Linked DNA regions of Homo sapiens: region 2 is linked to region 1. The links are contacts of gene promoters, found by promoter capture Hi-C in human tissues and cell types (Jung and others, 2019). All regions are on one chromosome and are shown on one strand. Each heading gives the region's core, a stretch centred on a gene start or on the middle of the fragment in contact. The rest is flanking DNA. Distances are from core to core; before and after follow the strand shown.

What was found. The method cuts DNA at HindIII sites, captures the fragments that hold promoters and counts their contacts. A contact is called where the count stands out against the background at its distance.
Region 2: a fragment that was not itself captured here is called in contact with the fragment with the promoter of FBXW9 in region 1 in 1 of the 25 tissues and cell types used here (spleen).

What each region holds. Positions count from the first base shown.
Region 1 is chr19:12,694,698-12,698,425 of GRCh38, reverse strand. It overlaps FBXW9 (F-box and WD repeat domain containing 9), which reads left to right and starts at 1,795. Exons shown (of 10, transcript NM_032301.3): 1 at 1,795-2,253; 2 at 3,488-3,627; 3 at 3,704-3,728. The coding sequence starts at 1,845. RefSeq lists enhancers at 1,466-1,525, 1,836-1,885. The HindIII fragment of the contact is 8,232 bases long and covers 1-3,728 here.
Region 2 is chr19:12,741,500-12,745,227 of GRCh38, reverse strand. All of the region lies in intron 2 of GET3 (guided entry of tail-anchored proteins factor 3, ATPase), which reads right to left. Among named protein-coding and RNA genes, the nearest start is that of GET3, 5.9 kb to the right of the region's middle. RefSeq lists an enhancer at 1-164. The HindIII fragment of the contact is 4,515 bases long and covers 1-3,728 here.

The DNA.
Region 1 (3,728 bases), core at 546-3,045:
CAATATTCAACAAATAAGTCCTGCATTCTAGTGAGAGGATAGAGTATAAAAAGTGGAACTGTGCTAAGTCCTATAGAGAAAAACAGGAAGGCAGAGAGAATGGTGGGGGAAACGGTTGAAATCTTATGTAGGGTGACCTGCAAAGGCCACACTGAGAAGACGATGTTTGAACAGAGCCATGGAGAGAAGAGTGTCAAGTAGAGCAAACAGCAAGGACTGCGCAGATGACCTACGTGGATTGGTTAGCTGCCTGGCTCAAAAGAGGCTTGCAGTAAATACCTGCAGTTTTTTTGTTTGAGACGGAGTTTTGCTCTTGTTGCCCAAGCTGGAGTGCAATGATGCCATCTCGGCTCACTGCAACCTCCGCCTCCCAGGCTCAAGTGATTCTCCTGCCTCAGCCTCTGAGCAGCTGAGATTACAGGTGCCTGCCACCACACCCGGCCAATTCTTTGTATTTTTAGTAGGAAGGGGTTTCACCTTGTTGGCCAGGCTGGTCTTGAACTCCTGACCTCAAGTGATTAACCCACCTTGCCTCTCGAAGTGGTGGGATTACAGGCCTGAGCCACCGCACCCGGCCAACATGCTGTTTTAGTAAGTGTGATGTTAGGCCGGGCGCAGTGGCTCACGCCTGTCATCCCATCACTTCGGGAGGCTGAGGCGGGCGGATCACGAGGTCAGGAGTTTGAGACCAGCCTGGCCAACATAGTGCGACCCCGTCTCTACTGAAAAATACAAAAATTAGCCAGGAGTGGTGGCGCGTGCCTGTATTCCCAGCTACTCTAGAGGCTGAGGCAGGAGAATCGCTTGAACCCGGGAGGCGGAGGTTGCAGCCAGCCGAGATCGCGCCACTGCACACCAGCCTGGGTGACAGAGTGAGACTCCGTCTCAGAAAAAAGAAAAAGGTAGCTTTCCACCAGGCGCGATGGTTCACGCCTGTAATCCTGGTACTTTGGGAGACCAAGTTGGGGGCGGATGGCTTGAGCTCAGGAGTTCCAGACCAGCCTGGACAACGTAGTGAAACCCTGTCTTTACAAAAGAATACAAAAATTAGCCGGGTGTGGTGGTGCGCGCCTGTAGTCCCAGCTACCTGGGGGGCCGAGGTGGAGGATCACTTGAGTCCAGAAAGCGGAGGTTGCAATGAGCCAAGCACTCCGCTTGGAGGACTGAACTGCTGTCCTCCAAGGTTGGGTTGGGGAATGGGGTCTGGAGAGGTAGTTCTGAGGCCCCAGTTCCTTTCTCAAAAAAAAAAAAAAAAAAAAAAAAAGTCACTTAACTGATGCCTCTGCAGTGTAACTGCATATTTCTGGCTCTGGGAAAAGAGGCAAGAGTTCCAATCTCTACTCCTTGAACTCGGAAAGGGGCCTTTGGGTTTCTAAGCTCAGTGTCACATATAACAGATGCCTTCGTTAAAGCAGTGTTTATTTTATGTCTAATTTAAAGAGACAGGGTCTCACTATGTTGCGCAGGTTGGAGTACAGTGGCACAACCATGGCTCACTGCAGTCTCGAACTCCTGGACTCAAGGGATCCTACCCCTTCACCTTCCTGAGTATCTGGAACTACAGGCGCGCGCCACCCCGCCTGGCTTGAGTTTCGTTTTTAGCTAGAGTTGGCTGGCTCTCGGTATCGGCTAGTTTAAAAAGCGCAGAAACAGGAACCTGCATTTTCCAGCCTAAGGCCGACGCAGTTGCAAGAGACCCTGTAAGCGGGGCGATGTTCTGTATTAAGCCAGTGTCTGACTTCGTCGCTTCCGGTGGGCGCATAAACGTCATCAGACAGCGCCGGAAGTGCCCTCGTGCTGCCTAGGAGACAAGACGCGAGGCCGGCAGCGCCCACCCGGTCGCAATGGAGCTTCCCCTAGGGCGGTGCGATGATTCCCGCACCTGGGACGATGACTCGGACCCAGAGTCAGAGACAGACCCAGACGCGCAGGCCAAGGCCTACGTGGCCCGCGTTCTCAGTCCGCCAAAATCCGGGCTGGCGTTCTCGCGCCCCTCGCAGCTATCCACACCCGCCGCGTCCCCGAGCGCTTCGGAGCCTCGGGCCGCGTCCAGGGTTTCGGCCGTAAGTGAGCCGGGCCTTCTGAGCCTTCCCCCGGAGCTGCTGCTCGAGATCTGCTCCTACCTGGACGCCCGCCTCGTGCTCCACGTCCTGTCGCGGGTGTGCCACGCGCTCCGCGACCTCGTGTCTGACCATGTCACCTGGAGGCTACGCGCGCTACGCCGCGTACGCGCGCCCTACCCAGTGGTGGAAGGTGCGCGGGGCCGGGGGCCGGGGACCGGGGGCCGGGGGCGCCCGCCCAGGTCAGGCTTGGGGCGGGGAAGAGGTACATGGGGTGTTCCGGATGCAGCCTCTGGTGCAGGCTTCGTGGCTGTCCTGGCTCAGGCTGGAGGCTAAGGTAGTTACTGGTGGTGCCGAAGCCCCTGAGGACCTCTGGGTGGACCACGAGGCAGTCAGGCACTTGGGGTCCTGAGGCTGTGAAACCCTAACATGGGGCTGTGGTTCCTGGACGACTCAGGATCCAAATATCCTCAGTCTTGGGGTCTTGTGGTACTAAGCCACTGACCCCTGATTGGGGATTGACACAGGGACTTGAAGTCTTAGGCTCTGGAGTTTATGCTGGGGCTCAAAGTGAGCCCAAGGATCCTCAGGTTCTGAGTCCAGCTTAGAAGCTGAGACAGCACCTGTTGATGTCAAAACTCCTGAGCCCTAGAGCCTTGACCCAGTTAGGGGTGAGACAGTGGCTCTTGGCCCTGAGTTGATTGGTTCCTGAGGGAAGACAGCTTGGGACCTTTGAATCGATATTGTTGATCCTGATACAGCTGGATCCTCAGGCCCTTAAGCCAAGATGTATTACAGCTTGGGTGTTTGATACCCTTAACCTGGAAGCTTTGATTCTGCTTAGAGAGGAATCAGGATCACTCCGGGATCAGTGATTCTCAAGGTGTTGCCATCCAACCCCCAGGTCAGACTCTCCCAAACAGCTTAATAAACATAGATGCTTGGACCCCGTCCATATCACAGAATCTGCATCTGGGGCTTGCATTCTGCATCTTGACAAGGCTCCCTGGTTTCCAGATACTGTTTGAGAAACAGCCCCCTTGGTCTGGTTCAGATGGCTGAGGCAGGAAGGGTTAGTCATGAGGTCCCAGCTTCTATGCTGAGCCTGAGGTCAGACCTCAACATCCTGAGACTGCTCTGCCCTGAGTTTGGGTTGGGGGATGGCGCCTGGAGAGGTAGTTCTGAGACCCCAGTTCCCAATTTCTGGAAATTGGAGTGAGTAGTCCTAGACCTGCCTGGGAAATGGGCAGGCAGGTGGTCCCAAGACCACAGCCTGGGTCGGCTTGGGGTGGGAGTAGGGATCTCCATGGGGTTCTGTCCAAGTCTGGTGTAGTGTGGGCTCCCTGGAAGCCAGGGTTGGGCTTGGCCAGCTGGCATGGGTGCTAGGGTCCCTGCCCACTGGGCACCCTACTCGTGGTAACCCACAGAGAAGAACTTTGACTGGCCGGCAGCCTGCATTGCGCTGGAGCAGCACCTGTCCCGCTGGGCAGAGGATGGGCGCTGGGTCGAATACTTCTGCCTGGCCGAAGGCCACGTGGCTTCCGTTGACTCAGTGCTGCTGCTCCAGGTGAGACGGGGTCTGTGGGGGGCCAGGCAGGGTGGGCCAGGGTGGCCCTGACAACATCACCTTGCTCCCTTTCCAGGGTGGGTCACTCTGTCTGTCGGGCT
Region 2 (3,728 bases), core at 778-3,277, 47 kb before region 1:
CGGCTGGGGGGACCCTGAGGTAGTACTTAGGGTTTTGTATGGTTGCATAAAGGGTCAAAAACAAGGGGAAAATTGCAAGCTGTGCCCAGGGCCCTCAAAGGGAAGCTGAAACCCACTGCGGGCCATTTACACTGCTACTCCCCACTTGCAACCTGCCACTTGCAACCCCAGATACTCCCATGACTGGGCCATGACCTCTTCCGGATCATCATCCCTCCACTGAGAGACTCCCTGACCACCCTAAGTAACAGCACAGATCCACCGACACCCCTGCCCTGCCTTCCTTTCTCCTTAAGGTTTAGCCCTTAGGAGCTGGGCAGGATAGCTCACGCCTGTAGTCCCAGGTACTCAGGAGAATGAGATGGGAGGATCGCTTGAGCCCAGGAGTTGGACACCAGCCTGGGCAATATAGCAAGACCTATCTGAAAAAAAAATTAGCCCTTCCTCACATCCCTCATGATTCCCTTATCATGTTTATCATCTGTCTCCATAGCAGGAATGTCTGCCCCTCAGGGGCAGGGGTTTTACCATCTAGTTCACTGCTGTGTCCTTAGCGCTTAGCATGAACAGTGCCTGGCACAGAGGTCGTCAGCACATATGGGGAATCCAGCCAGGCGCGGTACCTCATGCCTGTAATTCCAGCCCTTTGGGAAGCGGAGGCGGGCAGATCACCTGAGGTCGGGAGCTTGAGGCCAGCCTGGCCAACATGGTGAAACCCCGTCTCTACTAAAAATACAAAAATTAGCCATGCATAGTGGCGGGTGCCTATAATCCCAGCTACTCTGGAGGTTGAGGCAGGGGAATCGCTTGAACCCGGGAGGCAGAGGTTACAGTGAGCCGAGATCACGCCATTACACTCCAGCCTGGGTGACAGAGGGAGACTCTGTCTCAAAAAACAAACAACAAAACAAAACACAAACATGTATGTAGAATCTATGAAGGGATGGCCATGGCTGGGGTCCCTGGCCAGTCTCAGACTCAATGCCTCCCTCTTTTTTTTTTTTTTTTCCCGAGATGGAGTTTTGATCTTGTTGCCTAGGCTGGAGTGCAGTGGCGCGATCTCAGCTCATCACAACCTCCACCTTCTGGGTTCAAGCAATTCTCCTGCCTCAGCCTCCCGAGTAGCTGAGACTATAGGCATGCCCCACCATGCCTGGCTAATTTTTTTTTTTTTTTTTTTTTTTGAGATGGAGTCTTGGCCGGGCGTGGTGGCTCACGCCTGTAATCCCAGCACTTTGGGAGGCCGAGGCAGGCAGATCACCTGAGGTTAGGAGATCGAGACCATCCTGGCTAACACGGTGAAACCCCGTCTCTACTAAAAATACAAAAAATTAGCCGGGCGAGGTGGCGGGTGCCTGTAGTCCCAGCTACTTGGGAGGCTGAGGCAGGAGAATGGCATGAACCCCAGGGGGCGGAGCCTGCAGTGAGCTGAGATCACGCCACTGCACTCCAGCCTGGGCGACAGAGCGAGACTCCATCTCAAAAAAAAAAAAAAAAAAAAAAAAGAGATGGAGTCTCGCTCTGTCACCCAGGCTGGAGTGCAGTGAGTAGCTGGGACTACAGGCGCCCGCCACCACACCTGGCTAATTTTTTGTATTTTTAGTAGAGACGGGGTTTCACTGTGTTAGCCAGGATGGTGGCGATCTCCTGACCTCGTGATCCACCCACCTCGGCCTCCCAAAGTGCTGGGATTACAGGCACGAGCCATCACGCCTGGCCATGCCTGGCTAATTTTTGTAATTTTTTTTTTTTCTGAGATGGAGTTTCACTCTTGTTGTCTAGGCTGGACAATGGCGTGATCTTGGCTCACTGCAACCTCCGCCTCCAGGGTTCAAGTGATTCTCCTGCCTCAGCTTCCTGAGTAGCTGGGATTACAGGCATGCGCCACCACCCCAGCTAATTTTGTATTTTTAGTAGAGACGGGGCTTCTCTATGTTGGTCAGGCTGGTTTTCAACTCCCAACCTCAGGTGATCCACCCACCTCAGCCTCCCAAAATGCTGGGATTACAGGTATGAGCCACCATGCCCGGCCAATGCCTCCCTCTTTATCTTCCTCCTCTGTCACCTCTTCTTGGTAACTTCATGGGTCCCATGGGGAAGTACCCAACTCGCTGGCCTTAGGGGTCATTCCCTGTTGGGGAGCTTGCCCACTCATCACTGCACCCTCTTCTTATGCTTCATATATTTTAAGCTTCTTTGGACTACTTCATCCCCTCACCTGGCCCCTGTAAACTGTCAGTGTTCCTCTTGGCTGGCACCCTTATCCAGCCCAGCCTCCACAGGTTCCCTCTGCAAACACTCCCTTTCCCCTTGCTGTTGGCAAAATCCCCCACTCTGGTTACTTCCAGCTTTTTTTTTCTTTCTTTTAGAGATAGCGTCTTGGCCGGGCGCGGTAGCTCACACTTGTAATCCCAGTGTATTAGGAAGCCAAGCCAGGCAGATCATTTGAGGTCAGGAGATTGAAAACAGCCTGGCCAACATGTTGAAACCCCGTCTCTACTAAAAAAAAATACAGGCCAGGCGCGGTGGCTCACGCCTGTAATCCCAGCACTTTGGGAGGCCAAGGCGGGTGGATCACGAGGTCAGGAGATCGAGACCATCCTGGTTAACATGGTGAAACCCCGTCTCTACTAAAAATACTAAAAATTAGCCGGGCATGGTGGCATGCACCTGGAGTCCCAGCTACTCGGGAGGCTGAGGCAGGAGAATCACTTGAAATCGGGAGGAAGAGGTTGCAGTGAACCGAGATTGCGCCACTGCACTCCATCCTGGGCGACAGAATAAGACTCCGTCTCAAAACAAACAAAAAAAACCCCCCCAAAACAAAAATTAGCCGGATGTGGTGGCGGGCGCCTGTAATCACAGCTACTTGGGAGGCTGAGGCAGGAGAATCGCTTAAACTCAGGAGGTAGAGGTTGCAGTGAGCTGAGATCACACCACTGCACTCCAGCCTGGGTGACAGAGTGAAACTCAGTCTCAAAAAAAAAAAAAAAAAAGATACCATCTCATACATAGCTCATTGCAGCCTCAAACTCTTAGGCTCAAATGATCCTCCTGCCTCAACCTACCAACTTACTGGGACTATAGGCACACACCACCATGCCCAGCTAATTTTGTTTGTTTTTTGTAGAGAAAGGGTCTCCCTTTGTTGCCCAGGCTGGTCTTGAACTCCTGACCTCACGTGATCCTCTTGTCTCAGTCTCTGCAAGCACTGAAATGATAGGTATGGCTTTCTAGCTCTTTAGTATCACTGCACTTGAGGGCCGAACACTCCTGAAGAGTATTCCCATCTTGCTCCTCACCCTTTTGGAGACGGAGTCTCGCTCTGTCATCCAGGTTGGAGTACAGTGGCACAATCTCGACTCACTGTGACCTCCGCCTCCCAGGTTCAAGCAATTCTTTGCCTCAGCCTCCCGAGTATCTGGGATTACAGGCGCCCACCACCAGGCCCAACTAATTTTTTTTTTTTGAGATGGAGTGTCGCTCTGTATCCCAGGCTGGAGTGCAGTGGCATGATCTCGGCTCACTGCAACCTCCGTCTCCCAGGTTCAAGCAATTCTCCTGCCTCAGCCTCCCGTGTAACTGGGACTACAGGTGCCGGCCACCACGCAAGGCTAATTTTTGTATTTTTAGTAGAGACGGGGTTTCACCATATTGGTCAGGCTGGTCTCGAACTCCCGACCTCAGGTGATCTGCCCGCCTCAGCCTCCCAAAGTGCTGGGATTACA